2 separate regions of the Homo sapiens genome follow, and region 1 is linked to region 2. The links are contacts of gene promoters, found by promoter capture Hi-C in human tissues and cell types (Jung and others, 2019). All regions are on one chromosome and are shown on one strand. Each heading gives the region's core, a stretch centred on a gene start or on the middle of the fragment in contact. The rest is flanking DNA. Distances are from core to core; before and after follow the strand shown. Region 1 has its middle 23 kb from the start of ADAMTS1. Region 2 holds the start of GABPA (GA binding protein transcription factor subunit alpha).

The links. The method cuts DNA at HindIII sites, captures the fragments that hold promoters and counts their contacts. A contact is called where the count stands out against the background at its distance.
Region 1: a contact is called between a fragment that was not itself captured here and the fragment with the promoter of GABPA in region 2, in 1 of the 25 tissues and cell types used here (stomach).

The regions. Positions count from the first base shown.
Region 1 is chr21:26,819,171-26,825,842 of GRCh38, forward strand. No RefSeq gene overlaps it. Among named protein-coding and RNA genes, the nearest start is that of ADAMTS1, 23 kb to the right of the region's middle. RefSeq lists an enhancer at 1-217. The HindIII fragment of the contact is 6,528 bases long and covers 1-4,700 here.
Region 2 is chr21:25,729,446-25,736,631 of GRCh38, forward strand. It overlaps GABPA (GA binding protein transcription factor subunit alpha), which reads left to right and starts at 5,527. Exons shown (of 10, transcript NM_002040.4): 1 at 5,527-6,133. It overlaps ATP5PF (ATP synthase peripheral stalk subunit F6), which reads right to left and starts at 5,459. Exons shown (of 4, transcript NM_001003703.2): 1 at 5,408-5,459; 2 at 186-356. The coding sequence starts at 349. RefSeq lists enhancers at 2,751-3,588, 4,881-4,960, 5,279-5,934, 5,361-5,470, 5,491-5,610 and silencers at 5,071-5,170, 6,111-6,250, 6,311-6,520. The HindIII fragment of the contact is 8,192 bases long and covers 1-7,186 here.

The DNA.
Region 1 (6,672 bases), core at 187-2,686, 1.1 Mb after region 2:
CTATGAAGAGCTTAAGGAGCACTAGTTGGGGAGGGGAGAAGTATGACTTTATGCATAGATTTAAGGGACTCTGGGCTCTTTGTGGTTTTAATCAGACATACGATAGTTATCATAAACTATAATTATTATAAGTTACACCCGTGTCCTCCTAGCACAGATATAGTGATATGCATGTATATTATGCATTTTCTCTGCACTCTCTCTGCCTGTATAGTTATATTCATTTGGTAGAACCAAAAATGCATCTTATGGCAAATTTTGATTTCAAGTTGAAATACACCAGTCCGTATGGAGAGTGTTGTCCAGAAATGCAGATGGTTCTTTGAAGAAAAGTACAATCAAACATGGCAGAGACAGTCTTACATAACAAATAACAGGGCTGATGTCAAAGTTATTTGCCAACAGAATACAGTATGTACACCATTAAGTACTTTGCTGTCTTCATATGAATTTGTCCTTAGAAAAACTGCCCCAATCTAAACTGTTACATTAATATCTACTACCATATTAGGATTAGGAGTGCTTACTATGTGTCAGGTACTAGTTTAAACACTTTGCAGGTATTATGAGTGGGATAATTATACCAACTGAATGAAGTACATTACTATTTTCATCATTCCCATTTTATAGATGGAAAATCAAGGTAAGGCAAATTAAGAGTAAGGCAAGTAAATGGAGGAGCTAGGATTCGAATCCAAGCAGCCTGATTCAAATTTTGCATGTTCAGTTGCTATGTCAACAACATCTCAATATGACTGAATCTTTTTCAAGAGAGAAACCAAAACCCAAATGCAAAAGCACTCTGTCCCTTTTAAGGTTGTCATTTGGGAAGTACATACAACTTTCCTAAGAATGCTGTCATACCTTAAATATTTCTGAAATGGATACCTTGGAATTAACGTCAGAGCCTGCAGCTCATTCTTTGACTATCTCCTGTGGTGGCAAATCTCTTTTTGAAGGAGGATTTTGTTTTGGATGCAACCAAAGTCCCTTGCAGCCAAATACCATGACTAAGGTGGGTCTCTAATCTGGGTGATGCCATTTTTGGTCAAAAAAGTGAAACATGCCTGGGCGGCAATGGGGCAGATTGTTTCTCTAAATTGGCTCTGAGGACAGTTCCAAGGAGGAGCTTCAGAGCCTCTGGAGCAATTGCCTGCTCTGGGTTCATGACTTGTAGTCCAAAGTGATTTGACTTGGGGTGAGGGTGTGGTCAATTTAGATATTCAAATCTGGACAAGTTTATCATCACTTGCCTCTGTAACTTGGATTTAATTTTTAAAAATTCATAAATCCAAATAGTCAATAATTTCTGTAGACAATCTTTTGGAAAATTAAGTTGACCTATCTCATTGAGTGAACAGGGATGAAGCTAGCAAAACAGAAGGCATCCATCTGTGTCTTTATTTTTTGCTCCATGCCGGAAGGGTTTCCTGTCCACCCAGCATACCTGGTGGTATTACCTACACACGCCACTCATCTGTATGAGTGGCTGAGCAAGAACGGATCACATGGATCAGACATTTTTGTCTCTGTTATTTCTTCTCCAATATCTGGAACACATCTCCCGCCTGTTTTCATTCCTTTCAACTCAAAGTATCATGTTATGTCTCTACTCCTTCCTTGACCCCTTGACCTGAAGTGATCCCTTGCTTCTGTATTCCTGAGCTCATGTTATTGATGCAATTCACTGGACTCACTTTCTTGTATTGTTATTTTTTCTTTTGTATACATTTTATTTCTCCAGCTATACTATAAGACTAAAGGCAAGAATGATTTTTTTTTCTACCCATTTTATCTTCCTTTCTTTCCATCCTCTTTCCTTTCTCTCTTCCTTCCTTTCTGCATCCTTCCTTTCTCTCCTTTATTTTCTCTCCTTTTTTTTTCTTGTGGGCTCTTATTCAGGCCCTAGGACAGTTCCCTATACAAACTAGTAGCCCAGCGATATTTACTGATTCTTACTCATTCTTGTTATATCAATGGAATGAATAATCTAATTGCCCACTCTGCATATTTATCTTTCTTATTATAATTTTCTTGAGAAAATGTTAAGTTGTTTTCCTTCCTTTGTTTCTTCCTTTCTTTTTTTCTTGACATATACTACTTGAAGGGTTATATTTCAAAAAAAGGCAGCCTTAGTTAAACATCTTTTTTTATTTGTTCAAAGTGATAAAGGGCAAGTATACTACTAAAACTGATTCTATCTTCTTTGCAAGGGATGTTTTTCTTAAAGATATGCTATTAAAGTATAATTGACTCCTCTTGCTACATAAAACCTTTGGGGTCTACAATTTGATTCTTCAGAAGTCTTTGTCAAAATATTGCTTAAAAGTAAGCATTTGTTTTACCAGTATTCATTCTTATATTTTGGGGGTTCAAAATATAAATAAGTATAATATCCAGCAATCTAAAGCAACTTTACTTTTATTGATGCTCTATAATCAACAAACATTCACATTTATTCACATTTTAAATTGTACCTTTTTGTGTGTGGCTATTGATAAAGTCAAGTCTGATAAAATAACTAATTATATGGTCCCACAGTTTGTGGATAGGAAAATTGCTCAGAAAAGTGTTCAGTTCTCTAATTTTGGACTGTTAATAATGCCTTCTTTTTCACTTGTAAAATGATGCTCTTTCCTTTCTCCCAGTCATGCTAAGAACTGAATTTTACTGCTTCAACCATGCCTGCAATATCTAGGAGAGTCCCAAGTGAGGTTTCTTAGAAATGTTTACAAATGCAGAGGATCAAAAGCTTTTCTAAGTATTTAGTTTTGTTTACATTTTAATCTTTTAAATGGCTCACATGCATATGGATGTTAAAGAAAAAAAAATACAGTGCTATGATGACCTTAGGTAGATAACCCAAGTCCTTTGTTTTAAGAAAAGAAAAAGGAGACTAGAGAGCAAAGATAAACAGGATATTCTGCATTTTTTTTAGCAATCTTGTACTGTTGTATATTACATTTGAAGGCCAAATTTAAAAGTTATGCTGAAGGTCTATATGAGAATATTCTGTTATCACTACTGTCAAAGGAAGTCATCAGGACATTTTAATTAGAAAACCACAAGGTTTAACTAATATCTAACTTCTAAAAGAAATTGACCTTGTATTATAGAGCATATTCCAGAGTATGCTGCAGTTTGATAACTAGATATCATCATCTCTGTGGGTCTTTAATAGCAAAGGATCCTGTCCATAGGCTTGGGCTAGCCTTTGAGAATATGTATCCTTATTGTTTCAAATGAAGGTCTCCAGCCAACTTCCATTTATTTGGAATTAGTTTATCAAACCAAAAGATGATGTACACCCCTGCTTTTCTTTTCTTTCCCCTGAAGTATCCTTTGAAATGAAGTTAGTTTTTATTATTACCTCTGGCATACTCTGGGAAGAGAAGAGATATAGCCAAACCTGTTGATTCTACTCCTGTTAATAAGTTTGGTGAAAACACTGAAGGTGAAAGGCTCTGGAACATGCAGAACTGAATAAACCAACTTGAAATTAATGAAAAGCCAGAGCAATATTGTAATGCCAGCACCGCCAGAAGTCGGTCAGTATTTGTGTTCTTTATTTGGTGCATTTCTCTGCTTTTATGAAAGATACAGCAGGGGTCTGATAAATTCTTAGCCCACTTTAAAGAAAAAAATGAAACTGTGCACATAACTGATCTGATACATATGGTGAAGAGCTTCAGATGGAAACCAAATATCTTGGAGATTTAACTATTTACTTAATCTTTCAGCTGAGCTCCCTCATCTACAAATTCAAGGTTGCCAAATGATATGGTCTGCCTGTGTCCCCACCCAAATCTCATCTTGAATTACTACAATTCAAGATAATCGCCATGTGTTGTGGGAGGGCCCTAGTGGGAAGTGATTGGATCATAGAGGAGGTTTCCTCCATGCTGTTCTCATGATAGTGAGTGAGTTCTCATGAGATCTGATGGTTTTATAAGTGTCTGGCATTTCCCTGCTGGCACTCATTCTTTCTCCTGCCGCTCTGTGAAGAGGTGCCTTCCACCATGATTATAAGTTTCTTGAGGCCTCCCCAGCCATGCAGAACTGTGAGTCAATTAAACCTCTCTTCTTTATAAATTACCCAGTCTTGGGTATTTTTTTCATAGCAGCATGAGAATGAACTAATATACCAAATATGACCTCTTCCTGCTTTATCAATGGACTCTACTTCCTTCAAGTTTGAGAGCCAAGAATCTCTCTGATGGTCTTCATATTAATTCCCTTCTCTTCACTCAGCATTTCTTTCCTCAAAAAAAATTCCCTTGATATGTGCTTCAGGTAGTCATAATACATTTATCTTTTGTCCTTAAGATTAAATCCTGAGTACCTGCAAGCAAAAAGTGGTTTTTCGTTTTCATTCTCTACGTAATTTTCTTCCTGTTGGTAGAAAATTGGAGTTCTAGGAGACTTTAATATAAAATATTGAATTTTTTTGTATCCTATGATAATGTTTAAATCTTGCCTCTGTAGGAAAAGTGATAAATTCACAACCTATTACAATAGAGAATCCACTTAATTGCCCTATATTTTACATTGCTGCGGAGCATAAATATTTCTTCCTTCCTTCCTTCTTTCCTTCCTGATTCTTACTTTAATTACCACATAATGATTTCCTCCTGCACTCTGTACTGAACCCTGTTTAGAGAGTGTTTCTGTATTTTTAAGTGTGAGTACTTTAAATACATTTATACTCCTCAAAAAAGCAAGAGTAGAAAAGAACACTAATATATGTCATATTTTAAATTGCTTCAAATACCGATATTGATTTGTAAATTAGACAAAAGAAACATAACTTCTCAGTTTATTTTTAACCTTTTATTGTAGAAAAAAGTCTAATTATACAAAAGTAGAGAACGAAGTATGCATCTCTATCACTCAGCTTTAACAATTATTATCATTTTGTTCATCTAGTTTCATCTATCTTCACATTTTCTATTTTTGCTTGAAATTTTTAAAGAAAATTCTAGACTTTGTATTATGTTACTTCAGTATCTAGCTTTAGTTTTTGAAACAAGATACAATTTAGAAATATCTACCCTAGTTATGAGAGGATAGGATCTTTCCATGGATGTGTTTTTGTTCAAGGTAATAAACACCACTGCATCAATAGGCCAGTGTACCATTTTAATATGTTATATGATGTCAGTACTTATTGGATATTCTTTTCTTCTACTGCTAAGGGAAAAACTTTCTCTGCCCCACTGACAGTTTCTGTATTAGTCCATCTTCACATTGCTATCAAGAACTACCTGAGACTGGGTAATTTATGAAGAAAAGCGGTTTAATCGACTCACAATTCCACAGGCTGTATAGGAAGCACCGTTAGGGAAGTCTCAAGAATCCTGGTGGAACGTGGAGGGAAAGTTGGCCTGTCCTATATGGCTGGAGCAGGCGGAAGAGAGAGCGAAAGGAGAGGTGCTACACACTTTTAAACAACCTGATATCGCAGAACTCTTATCATGAGACAGCACTAGAGCAGTGGTGTTAAACCATTAGAAACCACCCCCATCGGCCGGGCGTGGTGGCTCACGCCTGTAATCCCAGCACTTTGGGAGGCCGAGGCGGGCGGATCACGAGGTCAGGAGACCAAGACCATCCTGGCTAACACAGTGAAACCCCGTCTCTACTAAGAATACAAAAAAATTAGCCCGATATGGTGACGAGCACCTATAGTCCCAGCTACCCAGCTACTCGGGAGGCTGAGGCAGGAGAATGGCGTGAACCCGGGAGGCGGAGCTTGCAGTGAGCTGAGATCGCGCCACTGCACTCCAGCCTGGGAGACAGAGTGAGACTCCGTCTGAAAAAAAAAAAAAAAAAAAAAGAAAAGAAAAAGAAACGACCCCCATTATCCAATCACCTCCCACCAGGCCCCACCTCCAACACTGGAGGATTACAATTCAACAAGATAGTTGGGTGGGAACACAGAGCCAAACCATACCAGTTTCCATAAGAAAAATGAAGAGAGTTGAAAAGGATAATTGAAGAGATTTTGAAAGTTATTTCTACAGAACTTCTGTCATAAAGAGGACTATCATCATCTCATCTTGGCTCTACTCTTTATATGTATGCCTACAATTAAAATCGTAGTTTATTCTTTCACCCTTAGCTTTTGGTGGATTCTTTTGTTCCACAGATAATCTTGAATACATAGGACTATTGTTGTGGGGCTTGAGCCCAGCCTTTTCCTCAATTCTCACGTTTGGCTACTGTTGCACCCTACATTGCTTCAGAACGAAAGGAGTTAATGTGAAAGGACTTAATATCATAATGTGACACACAAAGGGATACTCAGTTTATGTGGATTTGATGCCTACTAGGGATCTATGAGTTTGATTCTCCCAGATCTCCCCTAGTTGTAGGGTATACTTTAAAAAAAATTAAACTGTTACTAACACTAAATTCTTAGAGTTTTCCCATTCATTCATCTTCTTCACTAGTGAACAGGGGCAGAGAGATGGAAAAATGTAAAATTGTGGGAAACCCAAACAGGTTTGAATTTGAAATTAAATTTTTGTACTTTTAGTTATATATAGTATGCATCTCTTTGTAAAATAATTTATATACTGAAGTCAAGATATGAAATCTCTTAGTAATCAACTGACCAATTCATCTGTCTTGAAATCTACCTTCAAGCTTGGAAAAGCCATCGTCATCTAA
Region 2 (7,186 bases), core at 4,277-6,776:
CAGTTTCTGACTTAAAAAAATCAAGATCCTTATCTTCTTTTTTGAGGGCACCTAATGAACCTCTATGTCAGAGATGAGCTCAGTGAAGGTCTAATACTTTCAAATACCAAGTCATTTTTATTACCACCTTGAAACTTACATACTTTGAATATTTATATTTACACTGTAGTTATTTATTCACTTACTGTCGCTTAGATTTGTATTCTCTAATCTTGTCCACAAAGAGTTTCTGTATAGGATCAAGTTCCTTATTAAATGCCACTGCTGTAACACCAATGTTCCTCCGCAAATGGACTGAGACGGCTGACCGAATGACAGAGGAGAACCTGAAGAGCCTCTGAAGAATCATGCTGATTCTGTTACAGAAAACAAGCAGCAGAAACGTTAATATACTTATTATAAATCACCTCTAAATATATCATGAGAATCAAATTCTACTAATTGCTACAGAATTACATCATATCAGATCTCAGTCTATACCTGACCACAGTTCCCTTCTCCTCCTTATTCCCCATTGCAAGTTTTTTAGGTCTTAACCAAAAGGCTCTGGGATAATGGAACAGTTAGAAACTCAGGCCTGAAGCTTCATCAGGGTTAGAGCACAAAATGTGAGGTGAGGTATTTCTTCCCCCTTGAACTTAGTCATGGATCAGAGAAAACAGTAGAGGTAGACTGTTGCAACACTGTCCGCTCCTAACAGGAAAAGTACACTGGCCCCCAAACTAATGTACAAGGTTTCCCATACCTCAGCCGGGCATGACAACCTGAAAATGTGTACTTCACAGGCCCACAGAGGGAGAAACTGCTCTGCCTGTTACAAATGGATTCCAGCCATTTAAGAATACTGTAACAACTAAATCAAAGTCCAGAAGAACCAGCAAAGAAAAACAGCAGCCAGTCCAAATGAGCTGTGCATGACAGTGGGGAGGATCCGGCAGTCCAACTTTATCAGTGAAATAAATTGGTGAAGGAGATGGAAGTCTGAATTTTAAAAATAAGGACTTATGGCCAGGTGCAGTGGTTCACGCCTGTAATCCCAGCACTTTGGGAGGCTGAGGCTGGTGGATCACCTGAGGTTGGGAATTTGAGACCAGCCTGACCAACAAAAAGAAACCCTGTCTCTATTAAAAATACAAAAATTAGCTGGGCGTGGTGGCGCATGCCTGTAATCCCAGCTACTCAGGAGGCTGAGGCAGGAGAATTGCTTGAACCCAGGAGGCAGAGGATGCAGTGAGCCGAGATTGTGCCATTGCACTCCAGCCTGGGCAACAAGAGCAAGACTCCGTCTCACAAAAAAAAAAAAAAAAAAAAAAAAAAAAAAAAAAAAAAAGACTTAAAGACTTTCAAATCCCTAGACTTCCTTAAGCTAAAATATATTACTTTCTAACTAAAACATTTCAGTAGAGGACAATTCCTGTTGAGATTTACTTTAGTGATTTAAAGATCAAATGCAAAAAATAATCCAAATTACAACAAATAGGTACAAACAGGAATTCTAGAAGAAAAGGAATAAAGAGGGCCAGGCACGGTGGCTCATGTGTGTAATCCCAGCACTTCAGCCCGAGGCAGGTGGATCACTTGAGGTCAGAGGTTCGAGACCAGCCTGCCCAAAATGGTGAAACCCTGTCTCCACTAAACATACAAAAATAAGTCAGGCGTGCTAGCGCGTGCCTGTAATCCCAGTTATTTGGGAGGCTGAGGCAGGAGAATCACTTGAACTCAGGAGGCGGAGGCTGCAGTGAGCCCAGATCACACCACTGCACTCCAGCCTGGATGCAGGGCAAGACTCTGTCTCAAAAAGAAAAAAAAGGAAATGATTAAAAGAGACCATAAATAATTAGTAGAATACATTTTTCTCAGATTAAGGCCGAGTCTATAAACTGACAGGGCTTGCCAAACCCCATATTGGAACGGTGACAAAAGGCTCACAATGCACCACAGCCTGGTACAATTTCTCAATCTTTTTTTTTTTCAGACAGGGTCTCACTCTGTTGCCCAGAATGAACACGGCTCACTACAGCCTCAGCCTCCTGGACTCATGCAATCCTCCCACCTTAGCCTCCCAAGTAGATGGGAGCACAGTTGTGTGCCATCACACCAGGCTAATTTTTACTTTTTTTTTTTTTTTGTAGAGACGAGGTCTTGCCATATTGCCCTGGCTGGTAAAATTTCTGAATCTTCAAGTGAAAATCTGATATGCTAACATGTTTCCCATGCCCTCCCCAAATTTCCTAATAGCAATACTGTCATCATCACATTGACACCGGACTTCTACTAAGTTATAATAGGACTAGTGGAAGTATACAAACTATGTTATTGGTCTAAAGTAATATAGAAATTAGATATAAGTATTTAGAGGCCAGGCGAGGTGGCTCATGCCTGTAATCCCAGCACTTTGGGAGGCCGAGGAGGGAGGATTGTTTGAACTCAGGAGTTCAAGACCAGCCTGGGAAACATGGAGAGAACCTGTCTCTAAAAAATTAGAGCTTGTATTTTAAGTGACTTCATTGTTTTGTTTTTTAAATTTCATTTCTTTTGTAATTCATTTTCACTGTATTCAAAAGTGTCCACAGGAGTGGGTGTGAGAATGGCCCTTTACCACTCAGAGTTTGAGCAGCACTAGCTAGAAAACTGTAGAGTCGCACAATAGTTCTCAAAATAGGGTTGGGGGTGGGGGAAGAAGTGAGTTTTTTTCTCTCCAAGGAGACATCTGGCAATGTCTTTAGACATTTTTGGTTGTTCTCACCAAGCTGAGTGCTACTGGCTTATAATGAGTACAAAGCCAGGAATGCTGCCAAACACTATAACGACAATAACAGCCCTCCCACCCCTAAGAATTATCTGGTCAAAATGTCAATAATGCCAAGGTTGACAAACTCTGGAATGGCATGTAAAAATTATCAAAAGAAATCTACAATGAGCCAGGTGCAGCGGATCATGCCTGTAATCCCAGCACTTTGGAAGAACAAGGCAGGAGGATCACTTAAGCCCAGGAATTCAAGACCAGCCTGGGCAACACAGTATGACCCCATCTCTACAGAAAAAAAAAAAATAGCCAAGTGCGGTGGTGGGTGCCTGTAGTCCCAGGTACTTGGGAGGCTGAGGCTGGAGGATCACTTGAGCTTGGGAGGTAGAAGCTGCAGTGAGCTGTGATTGCACCACTGCATTCCAGCCTGTGTTACAGAGTGAAACCCTGTCTCAAAAAAAAAAAAAAAGAAAGAAAGAAATCCTACAATCAGGCCGGGCGTGATGGCTCACGCCTGTAATCCCAGCACTTTGTTGTAATCCCAGCACTTTGGGAGGCCAAGGTGGGTGGATCACCTGAGGTAGGGATTCAAGATCAGCCTGACCAACATGGAGAAACCCCGTCTCTACCAAAAATACAAAATTAGCCGGGAGTGGTGGCACATGCCTGTAATCCCAGCTACTCAGGAGGCTGAGGCAGGAGATTCCTTGAACCCAGGAGGCGGAGGTTGCGGTGAGCCGAGATCGCGCCACTGCACTCCTCCACCCTGGGCAACAAGAGTGAAACTCTGTCTCAAAAAAAAAAAAAAAAAAAAAAAAAAAGAAATCCTACTATCAATGCAATCAACAAAATATGCTTCACCTGACAGAATGAAAGCAAACTGTTTGAAGAAATTAAAGAATTCATAACATATCACTTTTATACCCCATCAGGGAAAAATACTTGAGAAAAGGCTACAAGCAAACAACAAATGACCTCACAAGGTCATGTGCCACTTATTATCATTCCTATGTTTAAACACACAGAAACTGAGGATTAGAAGTATCTGGTCAAAGTGGTCGGGCGCGGTGGCTCACGCTTGTAATCCCAGCACTTTGGGAGGCCGAGGCGGGCAGATCACGAGGTCAGGAGATCGAGACCATCCTGGCTAACACGGTGAAACCCGGTCTCTACTGAAAAATACAAAAAATTAGCCAGGCGTGGTGGCGGGCACCTGTAGTCCCAGCTACTCCGGAGGCTGAGGCAGAAGGGCGTAAACCTGGAAAGTGGAGCTTGGAGTGAGCAGAGATCGTGCCACTGCAATCCAGCCTGGGCGACAGAGCGAGACTCTGTCTCAAAAAAAAAGTATCTGGTCAAAGTTACACAGCAAAATCTAACTTAACACATATATGCAAAAAAAAAAATTGTGCAATTCAATGCCACTTTCCCTTCTGGCAAACTAAGGACATGCTTAACATTCAGCAATAGGTTCACCCGACATTTGCTTAGCCCTAGATACTGTGCAAAGTACTTCCATATATATCCTTTCCTTGTACCCTTACAGCAATACTCTCAAAGAGTTAAAGTGTTCTTATCCCTGCTTTACAGATGATAAAACTGTATCTAAGAAAGATTAAGCTGCACGTATTCTCACAGTTAATTTGCTCTAAGTCTGACTGCATAGATGTTACTCCTTCTGCAACACGGGTAAAATCCACTTTCATTGTTTCAATTATCCACCATGTAAGTGCCTATGATTCCCCAATCGCATTTCTAATTTTAGTATTCATCCTGAGCCCCAAATCTATCCACAGCATTCAACAGTTCTCATCTCCCTTATAAGTCCTACGAACTCATCCAAAAAACGAACACATAATCCCATATCAAAACTTGTTCCTTCTCCTTTAATCCCTTTCATTTTTTTTCACTGATTAGTGAATGCATATTGTCCACTAAAACGCAGAAGATAGTCATTACACAAATAGCTGTGAAATACCACCTGACATAAATTCTCTATTCCAGTACCATCGGGTGCCACGAGAGCATATGATAGCGTCTGACATGATCAGAAAGACTGGGGAAGGCAACAGTAAGAAAACACTAGTCTGAGCAGAGGCCTTGTTCTGGGTGGGAGCATGGTTCTATTTATAGTGATGACTGACCGGCCAAAGGTTAGTAGGTTCGCTGCCTCTTCAGTGCATATTCCTATGAACAATCCATAAAGTCGCCTAATGAAGTGTTAGCACCATCGTTTTTAGGTGGGATGCAAACTTTCAATATTATGACTAATTTTTTCCCTCTTAATGGTACACGTTCTGCCTAAGTAGCCTAGACGCTCCCGTGCGCCCGGGGCGGGTAGGCCTGGCCGAAAATCTCTCCCGCGCGCCTGACCTTGGGTTGCCCCAGCCAGGCTGCGGGCCCGAGACCCCCGGGCCTCCCTGCCCCCCGCGCCGCCCCGATTTGCCCTCAGAGAGGGTATCGATCTTATTTCTGGGTCTACGGCAAACTCCAAGGTCTACAAACGTAGAGGTCAGCTGTGACCCCGGGCCAGGCCGTGAAGGTCCCCAGGACACAGAGCTGCTCTCTCCTCCTAGTAAAGGTGAGAGGCAGCCCAGGCCTCGTGAAAAAACCCAGAACTGGAGTCCCAAAAGGCCACGCTGATCTAGCTACCCTCCCAGTCACCTTGCACTCAGTCCCGAGCTGCCAAAGCCTCCGCCGCCACCACCTCCGCTCTACTTCCGGCCCTGGCTCCGCCCCCACACGCCTACCCGCCATCGCAATGCATTATGGGCCGCCGTTTCAGTCGGTCGACGCTCACCGGACAGGAAGCGTCTCGGAGACAGTCTGCGACCGGACGGGTCTAGGTGAGACAGAAGCCAAACAGGAGGAGGAAGTGGAGGGTAAGTGCTTCCGGGTCCCCTGGCACAGCCTCCGCCATCTTTTCTTCGCCTAATTTGACCCGTTCTTTTTCCCCTCCTTGAAACCTTGCTCTGTACGCATGCGCTCTTTGAGTGGCCTTTCCCCTAGTTCAAGCTCCCCTCCGAGTCAGCGTCCTGTTCGTTAGGGTTATCGAAGTGTATAAAGGTGCAGGGAAAGTGAGACTGTGTAAAACAAAGCGGATTGGGGCGTTGTGCTTCCTTGTACCTCGTGAGCCTCCGTTGCCTTGGGCGGTCGTTTTGCGCACCCTGCCGGGAGTTGTAGTCCTGGACCCGAAGGTGCCTGGGAGGCGGGAGGGGGGTTGGGGCTTCTCAGCGCCGATTCCGCGGGAAGGGCCCTGGGACCTCACACTTCTAGTCGCGGGAGCTGCAGGTCTTACCCGGAGAGACGCTGCACGTGGAGCCCTCGCCGCTGCCGTTCTCAGCCGGCTCTGGAGTGCGGGCGGGGGCGACAGGGCCGATTCCGGAGTGGGTGAGTGCGGCCGCCGGGGAGGAGGGGAGCGCGGGCCCTCGCGGGCCGGCCTCGTTCCGGGGCCTTTTCCCCCACAAGGGCCCCCCCGCGGCCGCCTCTGTGTTTTGTTTCCGCTGGTCCCCGGCGCTGTGACTCCCATTTCCGTTCGTGGAGACTTGAGGGAGCCGGGTGGGGAGGGGCGGGAGAGCTGTGCGGGGAGCGAAGGGGAGGGGCGGGGGGCGAGCGGCCTGGAGCCCGGGGGGACCGGGCACCGCCGGGACCCGTGCCGGACGGGTCGCCTGTCGCCGCTCCCTCCTTTCCGCGTCCCCTCCTCGCCCGTCCGCACTCCTCAGCAGTCTCAGCCTGCTCAGCTGGGATGTGGTCCTGACGCCCCCGAGATTTTAAGAGCAAAATGCAGACCCTGTCTCATCGCGGGACTCAGCGATTCACTCATTTCAAATCCGCTCTCTTTATAGAACAACACACACCAGAATCATTTATCAGCGTATATGGTAGCCATCTGGGTTTGTTTTTTTGTTTTTAAGCAAGGAAGTAAACCAAGGAGATAACAATGGGTTGTCTACTTGGAAATTTTTTTGTGTACTAGAAGACACGCTGTATGTGCGTGTTTGGATTTAGGGACCCCAGTTTGATCAGGTTAGCGGACCGAGAGGACAATGCCTAATATTGCATTGCAAGATGATTAGAAATTTAGAAATAAAATTCATTTCATAAGTAGTTTCCACTAATAGCAGTAGGTCTGACTCGTGAGAAGAGCAAAGATTTAGCAGGATTCACTTGAGCGAATTGTAGAACGAGGCGGTGATAACATTCTTCGGTAGTGTTATCTTGAACTTCAGAAGAAACCGCTCAACTCTTTAGCAACTGCTTGAGGGACTAGCCTGTCTCTCAGGGTTCCATCCAGGCTTTCCAAGCTTCTTTATTTTTAGACATACAGTGACGCTGAGTGGACTTCAAGTCAATTTTACCTGAATTGTGTATACAAGAGCATCTGTCATGAGGCATGTATAGTAATGAAGTAATTAAATCATGAGCTAGATGTTAGGTTGAAGC